3 separate regions of the Homo sapiens genome follow, and regions 1 and 2 are each linked to region 3. Evidence: promoter capture Hi-C in 16 types of primary human blood cells and fetal thymus (Javierre and others, 2016). All regions are on one chromosome and are shown on one strand. The core of a region is centred on a gene start or on the middle of the fragment in contact, and the rest is flanking DNA. Distances in the headings are between cores, read along the strand shown. Region 1 overlaps ALG13 (ALG13 UDP-N-acetylglucosaminyltransferase subunit). Region 2 overlaps ALG13 (ALG13 UDP-N-acetylglucosaminyltransferase subunit). Region 3 holds the start of LHFPL1 (LHFPL tetraspan subfamily member 1).

Region 1 (4,570 bases), core at 2,054-4,553, 960 kb before region 3:
ACTGCCTTTTTATTATACTAGTTCCATTTTTATTGTGTTTTTAAAATCTCTCCTATTAACTGTCCTTATTACTTAATGGCTAAGTAGGGCTTTAGATCCTTCTTTCAGGATAAGTTTATGTTAATAAGTAGCTATCACAGTATTCCAAGCCTTAAAACAGGTTATAGTGTGTTCTACAAATTCTTCATCTAAAACAGTGCTAAGCAGCTAAAAATTTGTTGTGCTTGAAAAAACTACCTCCTAGCTACAGAATGTTTTTTAAAACTCAATACACTATTTATGTTTAGGAAAGTGCTGGCCAGCTGGAAATAAGAGCTCTTTCTCTAATTTATAAGTAAGTTATATCCTCTTTTCTTTGAGAGTGGGTATGTGCATGCATGTGTGTATAAGATCTCAACGGTCTCTTCAGGATTGGGGAAATTTGAGATTTGATGTATTGATACCTAGAATGAAGAAAGCTAAGAAAAAGTGTTAAAATATTTTAAATGGTTGAAAAGTCAAAAGAAGAATGTTTCATGGGATGGAAAAATTATATAAAATTCAGATTTCAGTGTCTGTAAAGCTTTGTTGGAACACAGTTATGCTCATTCACTTACGCATTGTCTGTGGCTGCTTTCATGCTACCAAAGCAAAGTTGAATAAACCATATAGTCTGCAAAAGCTGAAATGCCTATTTTCTAGCCTTTTGCCAAAAAAATTGCCAACCTCTGCTTTAAATAAAGGAGAGCACCATCCCCCAACTCACAGACATACATACAATTGATAATTGGTTGTCTTTACCCCTTCTCCTCCCAAATTAAGATACATAAAAAAAAATCCATAGGACTTTAGGGGCAATTAGCTGTCTACCTTGAATTAACATCATTTAGCCCTTTTGGGTTATTTTAAAGCCAAACATTAAACCGGATATTTATATTACTTTATATGAATAAGGTAGGCAACTTAAAAGCACAAATAGTTGTTCCTATAACTATCTCTTACGTATGCCAAATTATGTCTTCCCACTTACCTTTGTTTTCCCCATATAGTCGGGATTTCATTCTTTATCGCTTTCCTGGAAAACCTCCAACTTATGTCACAGATAATGGCTATGAAGACAAGGTAAGAAGATGAGTGAATGTTGACTTATATAAAAGAAGTTGAATGATGCTTCTGGCTTGCCTGGATATTAAATCATTTTTAACCTAATTAATGAAAAGCATAGTCTGAATGACAGGTTTCTCTGTTACTAGCATTTTCCTCTCTAGTCAGTTAATCTCAGTGTTGTTAGCCCTCTAAACAGACCTGATCGTCATTTCTCTGTGATAGGAAAAAAGCCACCCCAAACCCTAATTGGCTTCTCAATGACTAAAAAGGATAAGGTTCAAACTTTGAAGCTAGGCATTCAGCATCCTGAAAGGTCCCAAACCAGCTTCATTTTCTTCCATCCTTATTATGCCATGCTTCCAGGTATTCTGCTTTTCATACTTTGTGTCTTTGTATTTGAAACTTTCCCAATGCCCCTGGAGTCATTTTCTCACTTTGTGCTCCCTTAGCAGCTCCCAAGTAATTGTAGTGTTTATTATATTGTGTTTGTTTTCATATGTATTTCTTTCATTATCTGAAAGTTTCTTGAGGGAAGTGACAGTGTCTACTACTGCCTGGTAAAGTACTTGATTGTTAGTTGAGAATACTCAGCAGATAAATTGTTTGTCAGCATACAGCTTCTCCAAAAAGTTTATAAAAGAAAAGCCCTTTATCCTGATTATTTTATTAGTGAAATATAGACTACACAATGTTTGAGTTCTATATGTCTTATTTCACAACATGGAACACAATTTAGACACAATTCTAATGATGGCATGACAAGACTGGAGACCAGGAGAACTGTTAGGATGCTGTTACGATAATCGAGGGTGAATACCTGAACTAAGGAGAAGTAGCATTAGGAATAGAGAAGACTGAATAGGAGATAACTTAGAAGATAAGTATGAACGGGGTACGTTAATTATCTCTTTTCTGAGCTTTGGGGACACCAAAATGAATACAGTGAAATCCTTGCCCTCCAAGAGCTTAAGGGACAATGAAGACAGACCTGCAAAGGGTTAATTACAGCAAAGTGGTAAGTTTTATAATAAAAAAAATTGTGCTAAAAGCATAAGGGAAAAAGCCCTTCTTTCTGCTTGAGGGAGTTTAGAAAGCTTCATGGTGGTAGTGACATTTAAGTGGAGTATAAAAGAGTCCATCAAATATGAAGAGCAGTCTATTCAGAGGAAACACTATATACAGAGGCATAGAAGCAAGAGACCCTTTGGGAGTTAAGTAGTTGGATGTGAGGAGGATGATGCTGGAAAGATAGTCTAGAGTTACATAGTAAGAGGTAGAGCAGGCCATGCCAAATAATTTGTCTTTTCATTGTACAGAATAGTCATTTGAAACTTTTTCCCAACGTTTTATTATGATGTTCAAACATACAGAAAAGTTAAAAGAATTTTACAGTGAGCATCCATATACCTACCCACCACCTAGAGTCTGCTGTTAACATCTTAGTATTCTTATCACATATCTATTCCTCGATCCATTCATCTGTCCATCTTTCTTTTTTGATATATTTTAAAGTAAATTTCAGACACCAGAAAACTTGACCCTAAATGCTAATGGAAAGTTTTTAGGCAAAGGTGTGACATAATCTGAATTGTTTGAGGAAGAGGAGTGTTAACTTTTGTATCTAAGCAGTTGTACATAGCATTGCTTGAGATGAAATTTGGATCTTTACCAGGGATCTTTAAACTCCCAGTTCAGTTTTTCCTCAACATTGTATTCTGAAATTTTTCATACAGAGAGAAGTATGAAGACTCATGCAGTAAACATTCATGTACCCACCACTTAGTTCCTACAATTACACAGTTCCATTTATAAATGTCTTGTGTATCTTACAGAGAGATTATTTAGCTAATTTAGGGGGAACGTTACCCATTGGGAACCATGAGAATACAAAAATTTCAGACCTTTTGAGTGTGTACAACCTACAAATATCCATACATGTATACAGAGCTAATACTTACCAGCACTTGGGTATTTTCATGTACAGGATAGTGCATATATATGTCTGATTTGGGAATTTATGAAGTGGGAGTGTGTGTTTATATTGAAAAGCCAGGTGCTTTTATTTTGTGATGCTTTGCTTTGCCTAAAACTTTGTTGCTTTATCTCAGTTCACACTCCTAAGATTGGCATCAGGATTGAATTTTTAAAAATGAGGCCGGGTGTGGTGGCTAATGCCTGTAATCCCAGCACTTTGGGAGGTCGAGGTGGGTGGATCACTTGAGGTCAGGAGTTTGAGACCAGCCCGGCCAATATGGTGAAACCCCGTGTCTATTAAAAATACCCAAATTAGCTGGGTGTGGTGGCGCATGCCTGTAATCCCAGCTACTTGGGAGGCTGAGGCAGAAGAATCACTTGAGCCCAGGAGGCGGAGGTTGCAGTGAGCCAAGATTGCGCCGCTGCACTCCAGCCTGGGCGACAGAGCAAGACTCCATCTCAGAAATAAATAAATAAAAATGATTGTATTATAGGCAGTGAACATTATTAATGAGCCTTCTAAAAATATTTTAGAACAAACTTTCATAGAAATAAATGTCTAATATTCACTTTGGCATCTTTCATCTTGTGTGTTGACTTAATTCTGCATTCTACATAGTTATCTTCAGTTTCTTAAGTGTATTCAGCTGAAATCGAGCCATCTTCACTCAGCTCATTTGCTCTATCTAGATAGAAGTACATACTTACATTAAAAAGAAAATAAAATTAAGTCTTGAAATGTAGAGTAAGAAAGTCCCCACTCATCCTCTTCAATTTTATGCCCTTCAAAGTAACAAGTATTGGTTCTCATGCACTTCAAAGTAACAAACTATTAAGTATTGGTGAGTATCTTTCTGTATCATTTTATTTGTGTTTGTCTTTTAAATGTAAATGGGCCCATATTTAACATTGTTACTTGTTCTTTTTAAATATCCTTCTTAGTAATATAGATCTACCCCATTTTTTCACTAGTTTACTGCCATTAATTACATCCCATCTGCCCACTCCCAACCACCCACAAGTATGTATGAATTACTTTCATGTTGGGAAAGCCATCATGCCTTGTTTTGCCTCTTCCAGTCAAAATGGAAATTCTTGCCACTTGAATAGAGAAATTATATAGTTGTCTGTCTTCTTTCTATAAGAACTGCTTATTCATCACTCTGGTTAACTGGATTCCTTTATTCCTTAACAACTGCCTCTAAGTTATTAATATTTCTTAGAGTTCCCAGTTCTTGTAGCCCAAAGTACAAAGGATTTCTCTGCTCAAAATCTGCTCACTGTTCTTATGGGTTAATAAACTCTTAAATGCAAATACCCCTTGTGGTGGGAGAAACTTATAACTTAAACTTTACTGTGAGTTACTTAAGCTTGACACTTGACTTCAGTACTTTGAAATGGATTATTACTGAAATAGAATTGTGATTTCCAAAAAGACAAGTGAAGAATAATAGACCTGGGATCAAATAACTGGATTATTGGGAGAAGTTAGCCCAGGGAAGAGTAGGAA
Region 2 (4,018 bases), core at 353-2,852, 980 kb before region 3:
TATTTGTAGTAATTATTTTAGAATATCCTATAATAGACTGGTGAAGAAATCCAGTAAGGCAATACAATATGGTGTTTACTCATGGTTAAGTGTGCTACTAAAGTACTTGGTTGCAGGACCCTGATAGTCACTGTTGGAATGATGTCTATGAGACGCATATAGTACATCTTTTTGAATGATCATTTCTCCTTTTGTGCAGCATTACATACTGGTCAATTCTCCACTGCCAGTGTGAAGTGAGGGGATAATACACTCCCCATATTTAGTAATGAAAAACATTCCTAAGTCCTTAGCCTAAATTAGTAGTTTTCTGGATCTCAGTTTTCCTGTTTGTGAATTAATAAAACTAACTTCTCGGGTGATTTCTAAGACATAAACCTAGTTGTGTGGCATGTTTTAAAAATTAAAAATGCTGTTGAAATAACACATTTTCTCTTGGTTAGTTTTTGTTTTGAGAAGTAGGACTAAGATCTATTTTTAGAATTCACAGAATATAGTCCTAAATGATACGGAAAGCAGATTTTTCATTGAATTTCATGTTTAAACTCATACTCAGTTTCTAATTGGGGTTATAGTTAGATAATTTAAGTTTATTTAGAAGTTTAATTGAATGAGTCTTTCCAGTGCTTCAAATGTTCTGGGTTTTTTCCCTCCTTCTGCTAATCCTGTCTCTAGACTGATCAGACACTGCAGGTATCTTAAGTCAAAAAACAACCTTCTGCTGGGCGCGGGGGCTCATGCCTGTAATCCCAGCACTTTGGGAGGCCAAGGCAGGTGGTTCAGCTGAGGTCGGGAGCTTGAGACCAGCCTGACCAGCATGGAGAAACCCCGTCTCTACTAAAAATACAAAACTAGCCCGGCTTGGTGGCACATGCCTGTAATCCCAGTCGCTCAGGAGGCTGAGGCAGGATAATTGCTTGAACCTGGGAGGCAGAGGTTGCAGTGAGCCAAGATTGCGCCATTGCACTCCAGTCTGGGCAACAAGAGCGAAACTCTGTTTAAAAAAAAAAAAAAAACAAACCCTCAGTGTTTGTGTGCCAGTGTGGTATATTTTAAAGCAAAGTAATATTTTCCTTTAAAAAAAAATCTGTATTGTCATGCTATCAGGTGGAAATGGGGAAGAGAAGAAAATGAAAGCAAGTGGTTCTTGATAATATTTTATTTTGCAATTCCGAAGAAGGATTACTTCTTTGGGAAATCCATTCTTTGTCTTGCCTTTATTTCTCCTTCCTAAAACTTGAGGAGGAGGTTGAACAGGGCTGCCAGGCCATGCTTTGTTTTAGAACCATTGTGTTCCCTTCCTTCATAAATCTTGCTTTGCTAATTCTGCTTGAATGTTCACCCTGAAAAGTTGATAGGCTCTAGTTCCAGGGTGCTGTTAAAATACATTTTTAAAACACATTACCATTATATTTTCAGTAATGAAAGACCCTAAAAAGAGGTTCTGTAGAGTTATTTCCCTTAATTTGCTTCATGTTATTTGGTACTAAAAATAATTGAAGTAAGTTATTTAGGGCTAATTTTTAAAATACTGGCTTTTCAGTAGGTTCTGTTACAAGTTGTTATATGTTAATACATGGGTTTGTTATCTTTAAAAATCTAGGTCTGTTTATGTGGTAATGTCAGATTTATTCATTTTTATGTGGGCCAGTCATCCCCACTTTTTGCCAAGATAATAGGCTAACACCCAAAAGCTATTTTTAATATTGATCACAAATTTGACCACTTAAAGGAAGGTGTTATCAATATTTTAATATTGATTACAAATTTTACCACCTAAAGTCTGTTATCCACTGTTGAATCACAGAGTAATTCCCTACATTTGGAAGAGTGCTTAGAGATTATGCAGCCCATCTACTTATTTTACAGATGAGGAAACTGAGACTTAAAGTGGTACAGCCAAGTTCATAACATTCTTTTCATGATACCATATTGCCTCTCAGAAACTAATAACTCATAGCATTTTGTCATACACATTTACAACTATACCTTGTATGTCACAGGTAATGTATGCTTTAAAAAAATAATTCCGGACATACCTCATTTAATTGGTTGAAACGTGAAGTGTTATTTTAGAATTAAAATCATTAGTATTTATATGTCACACTACAGTTTCCTTGTTTATCAGTGAAGAAATAAATATAGCAATTAAAAGGGCAAATTACGTATTCTAGCTAAATTTCAGTATAAAAAGTAGTCATTGCAAAATTAAAGCCCATCAGTTTCATGACAAGTAAACTATGTTATTTAAAGTTACTTTAATGTTTTTTCAACTTATTTTAATCTGTACCCAGAGATACAGTGCTTAAAACTTAAAATGTCTTTTTTAAGACATTTTCTTTCCATTATACTTAGATGTCAAAGGGAATAATTCCATTAGGGATGGGGAAACAGGATATGGACCCATATTAGAACTTTGATTTCCAGTAGAATTTCAGTGAAATTGCTCTGGTTCTTACCTTTTTTTTTTTTTTTTTTTTTGGACCAAAGAATGATTGCTTGCTGAATGTTTTGTCAGGTAGCAGCTAACAGCCATCCATATTTAAGCACGAACGTGCTAAACACTGAATATACAGTGTCTTTTGTATTATTCTAACAACCTTAGGTTTAAGTCACAAAAATTTCTAGAGCAGTGTTTCTCAAACTTTGAAACATTAATAGGTGATCTATGGAGGGAAGAAGGTGTTTGATAAAGGCTAGGTCAAAAATGTGAAGCATTTACTATAAGCATTCCTTAGGACCTTTAATGTTGCTAATGGGCACTGTGAATCTCAAGGATAGGATTATAATATGCAAAGTTTGCTGAAATTTTGGCCTTGAAATTCTCTTTTTAGGAATATGTTGTTCTAGAGCAGTGGTTTTCAAAGTGTATTCCCTGGACCAGCATCATCATCACCTGGGAACTTGTTAGAAATGCAAATTCTTGGGATTCATCCCAGACCTGCCTCAGAATCCCTTGGGCAAGAGGCAATCTTTTAACAAGCCCTCCACTTGAGAACCACTGTTCTGGAAGTTTTTCAGGACTAAAGTAGTTTGCTGTGGAGAAAGCCAATTGGGATTTCAAGTGCGATATTTCAAAGGACAGTATTAAATACCTTGAAGTGGCTTTTTATTATATGCAAGACAAAGTCTAGAATCGACCCACAGTTCTCTTTAAAATATCCTATTGTACTAATCTGCAGAATGGAACCTCTGCTTTACCACTTCTGGGCTTTTGTTCATGTTTTTTCTGCCTTGGTATGTAATTCCTCTTTATGGTAATTGTGCAAACATCAGGAGATTTTATATAGTTTTAGTTTCAGTACTGTTACTGATTGGATGTGAAAACTTAGGTAGGTCTTAAAACTATTTCAGACCTGTTTCTTCATCTGTAAAGTAAGAGATCCCTTGGAGCTGTAAAATTCCAATTACTTGTTTTCCCAGTTTATGATGCTATTGTTTCTTGCTCACTAATGATAAAATGTTTAAATTTGCTTTCTAAAATTAAGGTAATACATGTGAATAGTTAAAAATGTTAATTGATTATACAAGGCTTACAACAAGAAACAGCAGTTGTATGTCCTATTCCTCCGCATCTCTGTTCCTGCTTCTTATAGATGACCGTATTACTTTATGTTTTATAAATAATATGCTTAAACTGGTTTTGTTTTGTTTTTTAAATTTGAATATCATTGTAACCTTCCTACATGGAAGAGGAGACTTTTCAAAAATTAATGTTTTTAATTTACACGTCACAATTGTATATGCATTTATAGGGTACAATGTAATGTTTTGCTATTTGTGTACAATGTGGAATGATTATGTCAAGCTAATTAACATATTCACCTCACTTACCTATCATTTTTTATGGTGAGAAATTTGAAATTCTTATTTTGAAGTACACAATATATTATTATTGACTGTAGCGACTCTGCTGTACAAAAGATCCCAGAACTTATGTCCTCTGTCTGTCTGAAGCTTTGTACCCTTTGATCAACAACTCCCATTTTCTCTTTTCCCACTCACCCCCCAGCTTCTG
Region 3 (4,305 bases), core at 1,709-4,208:
CTGTGGTGTCCAATTGCCAAGCCTTTAATCATTTGTTCTCACTTTTTTCACTTTCTTGTATACCTACTAATGTATGGGCACTTACAATGAAGTATCAATGAAAGTGAAACGTTGCTTTTATATTTCTCTTGGTGGAGAAAAACAAAGCTATTCCTTCCTGTATCACCTCCTCCCCAGTACCCACAGAAAAAGACACAAATCCTTTTGTTTCCACTTGAGCTTGTTGTGCAACTTCTGAGTTAAGGAAAGCACTGCCTTTCCCAGGGTAAGAGGGTACAGGCAAAACAGTAAGCAAATTAAAGACTAGAACATGAAGTGGTAAGAAAGGGAGTCAGTGACTTAACAGCTGCTGAGGGAAACATGCCTGCAAGACTGCTGGTTTAGGACTGGTCTGTGAAGAGCAGCTTTCTTGGCACTGGTGTTGGCAAAGGAACGTGAACAGGCCTTTCTCCTCACGCCCCCAGACAGTGTGCATTGTCTTCCTGCCAATCCTGTTACAAATACATCTTACTCAGAGTTGAGACTTCCCTAGGAAATGAATGAGATATGCAGGCATATGTTTCCAGTGGGTAAATAGAGTCCTGCTCCAGAGAAACGTGTTGGACCGATGTGACTCCTTATATCAAGTTGGGTATATAAGCAGCCTGACCATGCTAGATCTTTCTGTTTCAGACAAAGCTTCAAAAAAAAAAAAAAATACTGCTACTCCCCAAACATTTCTCTCCTCATGTTCTGCTACCTGTCTCCCTCAGGGGTTTCTTCTCCTCTGGCTATCTCCATTATGAGAAGTGCTCTGAGTTCTCCTGTGCCTGAAATCATCTCATGATGTACTCACTCATCTTGGTGACTCTAAGAAGATCTCTCTTTTGACTTGTGTCTTTTATTTCAAATTCCTCAGATTTCATGTTTGCTGAACTTCTTTCTGGGCCTTCTTCTTCCTTCCCTCCTTTTTTAGTTTGGGGTAGAAAGACCAGCAAAACTGTGTTGGGTGAGTTTATGTGTTTATTTGCATCTCTCCATCCAGAGGTGGGAATGCTCACAAGCAGGTAAGGCATTAAAAGGCAGGAAGCCAGAGACTAAGTGGAGAGAAAGGACTAACTGAGCAATTGATAACTTTGAAATGATCAACTCTAAATAAATATATTTGACCATGCAGAGACAAAGAGAGCTCATAAAAAGAACCTCCACATCAGGCCCTGGGCTATTTCCTTTCTCCAGAGTTTGAGACTGGAAAGGTAGGAACTGGAATAACCTCCCCAAATTTCATATGAGCTTCTCTCTCCTTCCCTCTCCCCAAGATGCTGCTCCTTGAGCTCCCCATCTATCCTATGATTTTAAAAGTGAGGTACCAATGAGAGATCTTCATCTCAGTTCTTATTCTGGCTAGACAGGTGCCATCATCTTCAGTGATAAGCTGGTTGGCTACGAGTTCTATCTCACACTCTCAGCTGGTTAGAAACTACCCCTATCAAGATCCCTGGCAAGACATTGTTAAGCCCTAAACCCCAGCCCTGTTATTGTTGCCCATTAGTCTCTCCACTCCATTGTATAAGCTGGGAATAAAATGTCACCACAGCTGACCACTTCTATTGAGTGAATCTGGCCCATATGGGAAGAAGATGGGCTGATTGCTTTTCCAATCACTTCAGAGAAGTTGAGAGGCAGCATGGTATATCAAGAATGTTTGTCTCAACAGAATCACTTTCAATGCTTGTTCAGAATCACTTTCAATGCTTGTTCAAAATGCAGACTATGTCACCCCCTCCTTGATTCACTGAATTCGAATTTATGGGAATTCATATTGTTAAAAATCCTCAATTTATTCTAATGGGAACTAATGATTGAGGAATACTGTTTTAGTGGAAAAGTCACAATTTTGGAATCAGATCAGAGACAGAGTCCTGAGGTCTGCCCCTTACAGGCTATATGCACATAAAAAGATCACTTAAAACCTCTGAGTTTTGGTTTCATTTATAAAATGGAAATGATTAAGCATAAAATTCAAGTGAAACATCTGCACTATACCTAACACCAGAGTAGGTATCAATTCTCTCCCTTTCTACCAGAAAAGACCCTATTCTCTCATAAGTAATGGAAAAGACTTGAAACCACCTAAGATTTAGAACATCTCTCCTTTCCCCTTTCTCTCCCCACAACCACTCCATGGGTGATTTTTCCTCACCCCTAGGCTTCATTCTATTTTCAGTTCCCCACCACAAAATGAAACCACTTGGCCAAGTGTTCTTTGCAAGAATGGATTTATAGTTTAAGTATTTCAGGTTCTTCTGGAAATTGTCATGCCTTGGCACATAGTAGGAACTCATAAATATTTACCAAATGGATGCATTCTTTTATTTCCAGCCTGAGAGGCCTCAATATTTGCATTTCAGTTTAACTTCATTACCCCATTTCCGTCGCATAACCCCTTAGATTTAGGCAAATCCAGGAGATCAACCTACCACATTAGCAAACCGGATCCATTTTTACTTGTATAGACAGGTCATAACAAAATCACTCTCTCCACTCCCAGAAACAGGCACTTCATCTCCTCAGGTTACCAACTCCCCTGGGGAAACCAACTAGCACTTAACCCTTAGGTCCTCAAATCTTGTCAATATGAAATAGGAATCCAGCCCTGATTCATCTTAGCCTCTGTGCAAACAACGGACTATGAAGAAATAAAAAAGCACCAGGCTGCCCTCGGGTAGAAAACGGCTTCTCTGAGCTTTGAGATGAAAGGACAGGAAACCTGAGAAAGGAAGGGGAGAAGGGGGGGCTGAGCAAGGGGAGAGCAAAGCAGTTTCTTATCCAGCTGTTTGAATTGCATTTGGCCCAAGTTGCATATTTACCTTCTGACCACGAAGGCTGACTGACTTGTTCCCTCTCTTCAGGCTCAGATCTCAGAAACAACTTCTCCTTACAGCTTGTTAGACAAGGATGGGAATACTAGCTGCCCTTTGCAGTGATGCCTGAAAACCTTGCTTTACCTTTGGGAGAAAGGGGCGGAGTCCAACCTAATGGGGATTAACTCCAAACACGCTGGAGGCTTCAAACCCAGCCTCAGACATACAGGCACTTGAAATAGAAAGTAGCTTAGTGGGCACAGAGTCCCCAAACCTCCAACCTCACAGCGGACAAAGCAGCTCTGTGTGTGTGTGTGTGTGTGTGCGCGCGCGCGCGCGCGCGCGCGTGTGTGTGTATGTGTGTCCGCGCGAGCGCGCGCGCATGCGCGCAGGCATGCCCGCGCTTGAACTGCGTTATCTTACTTCCTCACTTGCTGCCCAAAAGCCTGCTGAGGAACAGAGATTTTCTCTAATTTTCCTCCAATGCCCTAGATAATCTCTACCATGGTAGGTAGCAGACCCATGTGGCTAGAAGTGACTGAGAGAACACATGCCTAAATAGAATAAGACAGAACAACCTCTTCTCCCCAAACTGATTTCCATTGCCTGATGGGGAAGATGCTCCAGCAGAGCAATCTTTGGCTCCAAGATGTAATGAGCTTACATTTCAGAATTTGTGGAAATCATACATTGAAAGGAATAACTAATATATTTTTATAGTAATAATACAATCAAAAGTCAGTGTTTAATTTATCCCAGTGCACTAATAACTGCTACTCTGCTTGGGAAAAGAGCTGAGTGGTCTGGAGATGAATGGAGCTTTGCCTGATGTTCTACTCCAACCCGATGTCATATTTCCCACCTGTGAATGTCCCTGACACTTCATATTTGGGGAAACTTATTATCTTCTACCTAGTATCATTATTATTATTATTATTTTCGTACATGTCTCTTTTCCCCTCCTAGATGGCCTGTGAATGGGGAACTTTGCTGAACAAATCCAAATGATTTAGAAGGAAGAATGGTTACATTAACAGAGCACACTGGACTGATCCAAAGTATCCATGCTTCTCTGATGGCCCAGTTCCCTCACCAGAATGCTACAAAGGTGATTAGGCCTATTTTCTAGCATGTTGTGGCAATAATTCAAAATATGACCGTAAATTAACATATTAATTGTACCGTGATTATTTAATGAACTTACAAAGTTTCTCCTGCCTTCTGTGTATACCACCTGTGTCCTGCCTTTTATCAGTGATATGATCCTATATTCATGCATGTATTTGTCTATCTAGCAACTTTCCATCAGCAATTTTTACCGTTTTGTTCTACAACACAGTGATAAATCCATTCCCATCTGTAATCATGGCTTACTGAGGCCATCATGTTTCTGGGGGAAGCACAGATGACTCCTTAGGTGGAATGTTAGACTTTTGGCAGTGTAAGCCCCCCAACTAAGTTT

Evidence for each region. The method cuts DNA at HindIII sites, captures the fragments that hold promoters and counts their contacts. A CHiCAGO score of 5 or more calls a contact.
Region 1: a contact is called between a fragment that was not itself captured here and the fragment with the promoter of LHFPL1 in region 3, in 4 of 17 cell types (naive CD4 T cells, non-activated CD4 T cells, naive CD8 T cells and 1 more). The highest score is 8.5, in naive CD4 T cells.
Region 2: a contact is called between a fragment that was not itself captured here and the fragment with the promoter of LHFPL1 in region 3, in 2 of 17 cell types (total CD8 T cells and total CD4 T cells). The highest score is 6.8, in total CD8 T cells.

What each region holds. Positions count from the first base shown.
Region 1 is chrX:111,712,197-111,716,766 of GRCh38, forward strand. It overlaps ALG13 (ALG13 UDP-N-acetylglucosaminyltransferase subunit), which reads left to right. Exons shown (of 27, transcript NM_001099922.3): 7 at 288-334; 8 at 1,029-1,101. Among named protein-coding and RNA genes, the nearest start is that of ALG13, 33 kb to the left of the region's middle. The HindIII fragment of the contact is 2,250 bases long and covers 2,179-4,428 here.
Region 2 is chrX:111,694,523-111,698,540 of GRCh38, forward strand. All of the region lies in intron 3 of ALG13 (ALG13 UDP-N-acetylglucosaminyltransferase subunit), which reads left to right. Among named protein-coding and RNA genes, the nearest start is that of ALG13, 15 kb to the left of the region's middle. The HindIII fragment of the contact is 4,705 bases long and covers 1-3,955 here.
Region 3 is chrX:112,676,980-112,681,284 of GRCh38, forward strand. LHFPL1 (LHFPL tetraspan subfamily member 1) reads right to left here and starts at 2,959. Exons shown (of 4, transcript NM_178175.4): 1 at 2,850-2,959. The HindIII fragment of the contact is 5,630 bases long and covers 677-4,305 here.